Regions from separate parts of the Homo sapiens genome. Here region 1 is linked to region 2. The links are contacts of gene promoters, found by promoter capture Hi-C in human tissues and cell types (Jung and others, 2019). All regions are on one chromosome and are shown on one strand. Each heading gives the region's core, a stretch centred on a gene start or on the middle of the fragment in contact. The rest is flanking DNA. Distances are from core to core; before and after follow the strand shown.

The links. The method cuts DNA at HindIII sites, captures the fragments that hold promoters and counts their contacts. A contact is called where the count stands out against the background at its distance.
Region 1: a contact is called between a fragment that was not itself captured here and the fragment with the promoter of PRSS38 in region 2, in 1 of the 25 tissues and cell types used here (H1 embryonic stem cells).

The regions. Positions count from the first base shown.
Region 1 is chr1:227,470,938-227,474,396 of GRCh38, reverse strand. No RefSeq gene overlaps it. Among named protein-coding and RNA genes, the nearest start is that of LINC01641, 79 kb to the right of the region's middle. RefSeq lists an enhancer at 1-191. The HindIII fragment of the contact is 4,267 bases long and covers 1-3,425 here.
Region 2 is chr1:227,814,423-227,817,887 of GRCh38, reverse strand. It overlaps PRSS38 (serine protease 38), which reads right to left and starts at 2,213. Exons shown (of 5, transcript NM_183062.3): 1 at 2,024-2,213; 2 at 1,636-1,798; 3 at 408-679. The coding sequence starts at 2,171. The HindIII fragment of the contact is 13,958 bases long and covers 1-3,465 here.

The DNA.
Region 1 (3,459 bases), core at 43-2,542, 340 kb after region 2:
TGGGACTGCTGCCTTTCTTTCAGAGATGCCCTGCCCAGAGAGGAGGAATCTAGAGAGGCAGTCTGTCTACAGCAGCTTTGCCGAGCTGCAGTGGGCTCTGCCCAGTTCAAACTTCCCTGCGGCTTTGTTTACACTGTGATGGGAAAACTGCCTACTCAAGCCTCAGTAATGGCAGACGCCCCTCCCCCCACCAAGCTCCAGCATCCCAGGTCAACTTCAGACTGCTGTGCTGGCAATGAGAATTTCAAGCCAGTGGATCTTAGCTTGCTGGGCTCTGTGGCGGGGGTGGGGGGATCTGCTGAGCTAGACCACTTGGCTCCCTGGCTTCAGCCCCCTTTCCAGGGGAGTGAACAGCTCTGTCTCGCTGGCATTCCAGGTACCACTAGGGTATGAAAAAAAAAACTCCTGCAGCTAACTCAATGTCTGCCCAAATGGCTGCCCAGTTTTGTGCTTGAAACCCAGGTCCCTGGTGGTGTAGGCACCCAAGGGAATCTCCTAGTCTGTGGGTTGCAAAGACCATGGGAAAAGCATAGTATCTAGGCCAGAGTGCACCATTCCTCATGGCACAATTCCTCATGGCTTCCCTTGGCTAAGGGAGGGAGTTCCCCAACCTCTTGTGCTTCCCAGGTGAGGTGACACCCCACCCTCCTTTGGCTTGCTCTCCATGGGCTGTACCCACTGTCTAACTAGTCCCAATGAGATGAGCCAGGTACCTCAGTTGGAAATGCAGAAATCACCCACCTTCTCTGTTGGTCTCGTTGGGAGCTGCAGACCAGGGCTGTTCCTATTTGGCCATTTTGCCAGCCACCCCTAGTTGCTTCTTAACTTTCTACTCTGCCTCTACTTTGCCTCCCTGCTATGGTCTACTCCCCCCAAAGCAGTCAGCATAACTTCTTAAATTGAGAGCACTGCACTCCCCTGCTCAAGATATGACAAAAGTTACCCATAAAACTGGAATAAAAACTTGACTTCTTCCCATGGCCTGCAAGACAAAAGGCCCTGTGAGTTATGGCATTGCCTGTGTGATCTCATCTTCTCCATTACTTCCCTCATTTCTCACTCTGACCATGCTGGCCCCCTTGCTATATGTTCACTGAACACATATGAAACACATTTCTGTCCCAGTCTTGGCACTCACCTCAGTGCCTGTAATGTCCGTGCTCCTTCCCTTCCTCACTTTTGTCAGGTCACTTTTCAAATGTTACTTCTCTAGAGAGGCTCCTTCTCATTCGATCTAAAATTAAGAACTCCTCCAATCACTCTGTTTCCTTTTATCCCAATTTCTTTTCTTGCTATTTGCCACTACCTGAAAAAAAAAAATGTCTTCTTCATTAGGCCATAAGCTCATAAAGGCAAAAACTGTGTTCAACCTGTCCTCTCTACTCCAGCACTTAGAAGAGTGGCAGAGTCAGCATTCAGTGTTTACAGAGTGAACAACTTCCTGGCAGCATTTAGCACTGTATCACAGCCTCTATTATCTTGAATTCTTTGTTCTTTTAGTAACCTATCCTGCTTTTCCTCCTCCAATTCTACCTACATATCTGAGGGCTTGTTCCTTACATCCTGATAGTCCTTACAGGCCTATCTTCTATTCACTTTCTCTCTCTTTTTTTTTTTTAAGAGATGGGGTCTCACCATGTTGCACAGGCCACACAAAAATTCCTGGGCTCAAGCAATCCTCCCACCTCAGCCTCCCAAGCAGCTGGGACTAGAGACATTTGCTACCATGCCCAGCATGTCCACTTTCACTCTACACACTTTCTCCACATTTAAGTAGCTACTCATACTGCTCATTCATTACCTCTAGCTCACATTCAGGTTCCAGTCCGGTATATCCACATGATGACTGAACACTACCACTCTGCTATCTCACAGGGACATTAAACCTAATTCATCTACAATGAACTCCTTCTCTTCTGATCCAGCTTTCCCTCCAGCATCACCTATCTCTCTACATCTGGAAACACCATTCCTGTTTTCCTCCATCATGTGCTAAGCTTTCTGAATGGCTTGAAGCTTCATGAAAAGGCCTGTGTCTTATCCAGTGCCCATAGACAGGTTTCTTTTCAAGTGCACAGCAAAAGTGTTCTCTCCTAAACTCTAGCTGGTTGCTAACAAATCATGTATTGACCTAAGTGTTCTTCTCCTCCAGCCCAAGCAGTTGATCTTTTTCTATAGGCTTGCTGTTGAAAGGAATAAAACCCAACTGTATTAGTCTGTTCTCACACTGCTATAAAGAACCACAGAACCACTTGAGACTGGGTAATTTATGAAGAAAAGAGGTTTAATTGACTCACAGTTCTGTATGCTGTACAGGAATCATGGCTGGGAGGCCTCAGGAAACTTACGATCATGGCAGAAGGTGAAGGGGAAGCAAGCACGTCTTAACATGGTGAAGCAGGAGGGAGAGAGTAAAGGGGGAAGTGCTACACACGTTTAAATAACTAGATTTCATGAGAACTCATTCAATATCATGAGAACAACAAGGAAGAAATGTCCCTATGATCCAATCACCTCCTACCAGATCCCTCCCCCAACATTAGGAATTACAATTTGACATGAGATTTAGATGGTGACACAGAGCCAAACTATATCATCCTACCCTGGACCCTCCCAAATCTCATGTCTTTCTAACATTGCAAAACACAGTCATGCTATCCCAGCGGTCCCCCAAAGTTTTAACTAATTTCAGCATTAACTCAAAAGTCCACCTCCAACATCTCATCTGAGACAAGGCAAATCCCTTTTACCTATGAGCCTGCAAATAAACAGTTACAAGATATAATGGGGGTAGAGTCACTGGATGAATAAACCCATTCCGAATGGGAGACATTGGCCAAAATGAAGGGGCTACAGGCCCCATACAAGTCTAAAATGCAGCAGGGCAGCCATTAAGTCTCAAAGCTCTGAAATAATCTCCTTTGACTCCATAGCTCACATCCAGGCCATATTGATGCAAGGGGTGGGCTCCCATGGCCTTGGGAAGCTCTGACCCTATGGCTCTGCAGAGTAGAGCCACCATAGCTGTTTTCACAGTCTGGCATTCAGTGCCTGAAGCTTTCCAGGTACACAGTGCAAGCTGTCAATGGATCTACTATTCTGGGGTCTGGAGGATGGTGGCCCTCTTCTCACGGCTCCACTAGGCAGTGCCCCAATGGGGACTTTGTACAGGGGCTTCAACACCACATTTCCCCTCTGAACTGTACTAGTAGAGGTTCTCCACAAGGGCTCCACCCCTGCAGCAGAATTCTACCTCAACATCCAGGCATTTTCATACATCCTGTGAAATCTAGGCAGAGACTCAAAAACCTCAGCTCTTGCCTTATGCACACCTGCAGGCCCAACACTACATGAAAAACACCAAGGCTTGGGTCTTGCACCCTCAGAAGCAATGGTCTGAGCTGTACCTTGGCCCCTTTTAGCTATGGCTGGAGCTGGAGCAGCATGGACAGAGGGTGC
Region 2 (3,465 bases), core at 964-3,463:
TCTTTTGAATAGACCTAAATATTGTAAAGTGCCCAGGTATAAATCTAGAAAGAATGCACAGGCCTTTCTGGAGAAAAGTTTAATAACAAACGGTTTTTAGATAAGCTAAAAGAGATTTCTAAATTCCGTTTACAATCTTAAGGAAAACTGCTTTTAAATTTGTGTTCTTGATATACTGCATACCAACTTCACATCAAAGTAGCTGTATTTTTCTGCATACAACAAAGCCAGTCAGAAATAAAACAAAACAACAAAATATCCACACTGACAAACAAATAAATGTTGATTGACAGGTGGGGATTCCAGTCCCCAAACACCTGGACCCCCTTAGCTGGCAGAGCATTTTCTTCCCTGTGGTGGAAGAGAAGCCTTCATCCTGCCCACAAAGCCCTGCACTGTATTCCTACCTTGTTTTGAGACTAGTCCCCATCCCGTAGCCCAGCAATTGGCACTGGTAAGGTTCACTTCTGGAGTTGCAAGGCAAACCGGGAGCACGGACTCAGAAAACACAATGCGGGTCTTCAGCTGCACCAGGGCCACGTCACCTCCGATGGGGTGGTACATCTCATATGTGGGGTGCAGGATCACCCTGTTCACCTCATACCACTGGGTGTGGTTGCCGGCCACCCTGAGGTTTACGAGGCCTACGTACATGTCATAGATTTTGATATTCTTGTCCCTGTGGGGGTGAGAACAGAGGTACAATGCCCGCAGCTTCCTGTGTGGTCAGCCCACAGGCCTGGGGAGGCCAAGCGCAAGGGGCTGGCACTCACTCGGTGGGATTGAAAAGCCAGTTTCTTCCTGCAGCATAGTAGGGACCTATCTGGCTGTCTGGAAGAGTTGCCCCCTAAAGAGTCGACTTGGCCCATGGAGGCTCTGGGGACCCAAGTCTGTACACGACCACCAGCTGTACAGGCCAGCAGCCCATGCATGTGAGACCTGCTCTGACTCTTACTGACAACCTGGTTGCACACATCCCTCTGGAGGCCAGATGGCCACAGGAGAGGCGTGCCTGCTGTGCGGGGCAGCTGTGGTGAATGGGGCTGTTGGAGGAGCAATCGGGAAGGCCAGGTGCTTAGAGACCAGCCTTGCTTATGAGGACCTGGCTGTGCACTTGAGGAGCAGCCTCACTTTTGTGGGACCTGGCTGTGCACTTGAGGACCAGCCTCACTTGTGGGAATCTGGCTGTGCCCTTGAGGACCAGCCTCACTTGTGGGAATCTGGCTGTGCCCTTGAGGACCAGCCTCACTCGTGGGGACCTGGTCGTGCACTTAGGGGACCAGCCTTGCACATGGGGACCAGGCTGTGCATTTGAGGACCAACCTAGCTCATGGGAACCTAACTGTACACTTAGGGGATCAGCCTTGCATATGAGGACCTGGCTGTGATCTTGGGGACCAGCATCACTCTTGAGGACCTGGCTGTGCACTTGGGGGACCAGCCTCAAGAATGGGGACCCAGCTGTGTGTTTGGGGACCAGCCTCACTGGTGGGGACCTGGCCTTGCGCGGGTCGACAGTGGTGAAGGGAGTCGACAATGGTGATGGGGGAGGCTTGCGTGGGGTCCATCCAAGCCGCTGTGGGCACTCCGTGCAGGCCCAGCTACCCACACCATCCCAGGCCGGCGCCCGCTTACCTGTGAAAGCAGTGCGCAGCTGACAGCACCCAGTACTCATTGAGGATGGAGCCGCCGCAGACGTGGAGGCCTGCGTAGTGCACGCTGACCTGCCACGGCCACTTCCTCTCGGGCGCAGGGACGCCGCCCAGGATTTTCCCCTCCATGCTGGGCCGACCACAGGCTGCAGGGAGAACGGAGCTGACGGTGGAGCCATGCTGGGGCCACGGGAGAGGTAGGGCAGGCAGGGGACGTGGGGGAGGGGCAGGGGACACAGGAGGAAGGGAAGGCAGGGGACATGGGGGAGGGGAAGGGATGGGCAGGCGACATGGGGGAGGAGGCCCAGCACCGACAGACGCCCCAAGGGCACTGTCTCCAGCCGCCCATCCGCCCCTGGGGCAGGGCCTACCCACGCTGCCAGTTAGGGAGATTCCCTGGTTCTCTGGCTGTCTGTGGACCAATGCTGCGACCCGGGGAGGGGCCACCACCAGGAGCAGCAGCAGAAGGCCCAGGGCAGAGGGCCCGAGTGGGCCCATGACGGAAGCAGGGGCAGCCATGAGGCTCGAGGCAGCGCCCCCAGCGGGTGACTAGCTCCCGACATGTGACTGTGTCTCCAGCACAGGATTGCGCCCCCAACAGGTGGTTGCACCCCAACATGTGACTGGCTCCCACTAGCAGATGGCACTCCCAGCAAGTGAGGGCACCTGACCTGGACATGCGACTGCACCCCCAGCACATGTCTGTGTCTCGTGGATTTACCTCTCCCGACCTGGGCACATGATGGCTCCCAAGCTGGACATGTGACAGTGCCCCAACCATACCTCATATGCCTAGGTGTGGCATTCCATTCCACAGTCAGGTCTAAACACACTGGTCCATTTGAGAATTCTGTGTTTTGAATCGTGATGTTCTCAGTTTTCTCCATGGCCCAGCTTAATTCTGTTAGGTCAATGACAATTTATACATCTGCCACCCAGCTATCAAAAAAAAAAAAAAAAAGAAAGAAAAGAAAAAGAAATAGGCTGGGCACCGTGGCTCACACCATAATGCCAGCACTTTGGGAGGGTGAGGCAGATGGATCACTTGAGGTCAGGAGTTTGAGACTAGACTGGCCAATGTGGCGAAACCCTGTCTCTACTGAAAATACAAAAATTGGCTAGGTGTGGTGGCGTGCAACTGAAATCCTGGTTCCTTGGGAGGCTGAGACAGGAGAATCGCTTGAACCTGAGAGGCAGAGGTTGCAGTGAGCCGAGATCACACCACTGCACTCCAGCCTGGGTGACAGAGCAAGTCTCTGTCTCAAAAAAAAAAAAAAAAAAAATTCATTAAGCCTTCATTTATATCTACTAAAATTTATCCCATTGATTCTACATTATGGTGAGTTGTATAATTATTTCATGATATATTACAATGTAATAATAATAGAAATAAAGTGGACAATAAATGTAATATGCTTGAATCATCCCAAAACAATTTCCCTGCCAGGAGGCAACTTTGGAACTGGGTAACAGGCAGAGGTTGCAACAGTTTAGAGGGCTCAGAAGAAGACAGGAAAATATGGGAAAGTTTGGAATTTCCTAGAGACTTGTTGAATGGCTTTGACCAAAATGCTGATAATGATATGGACAATGAAATCCAGGCTGAGGTGGTCTCAGATGGAGATAAGGACTGGAGTAAAGGTAATGCTTGCCATGTTTTATCAAAGAGACTGGCAGCATTTTGCCCCTGCTGTAGAGATTTGTGGAACTTTAAACTTGAGGGAGATGATTTAGCATATCTGGTGGAAAAAATATCTAAGCAGCAAAGCATCAAGAGGTGACGTGGGTGCTGTTAAAAGCATTCAGTTTTAAA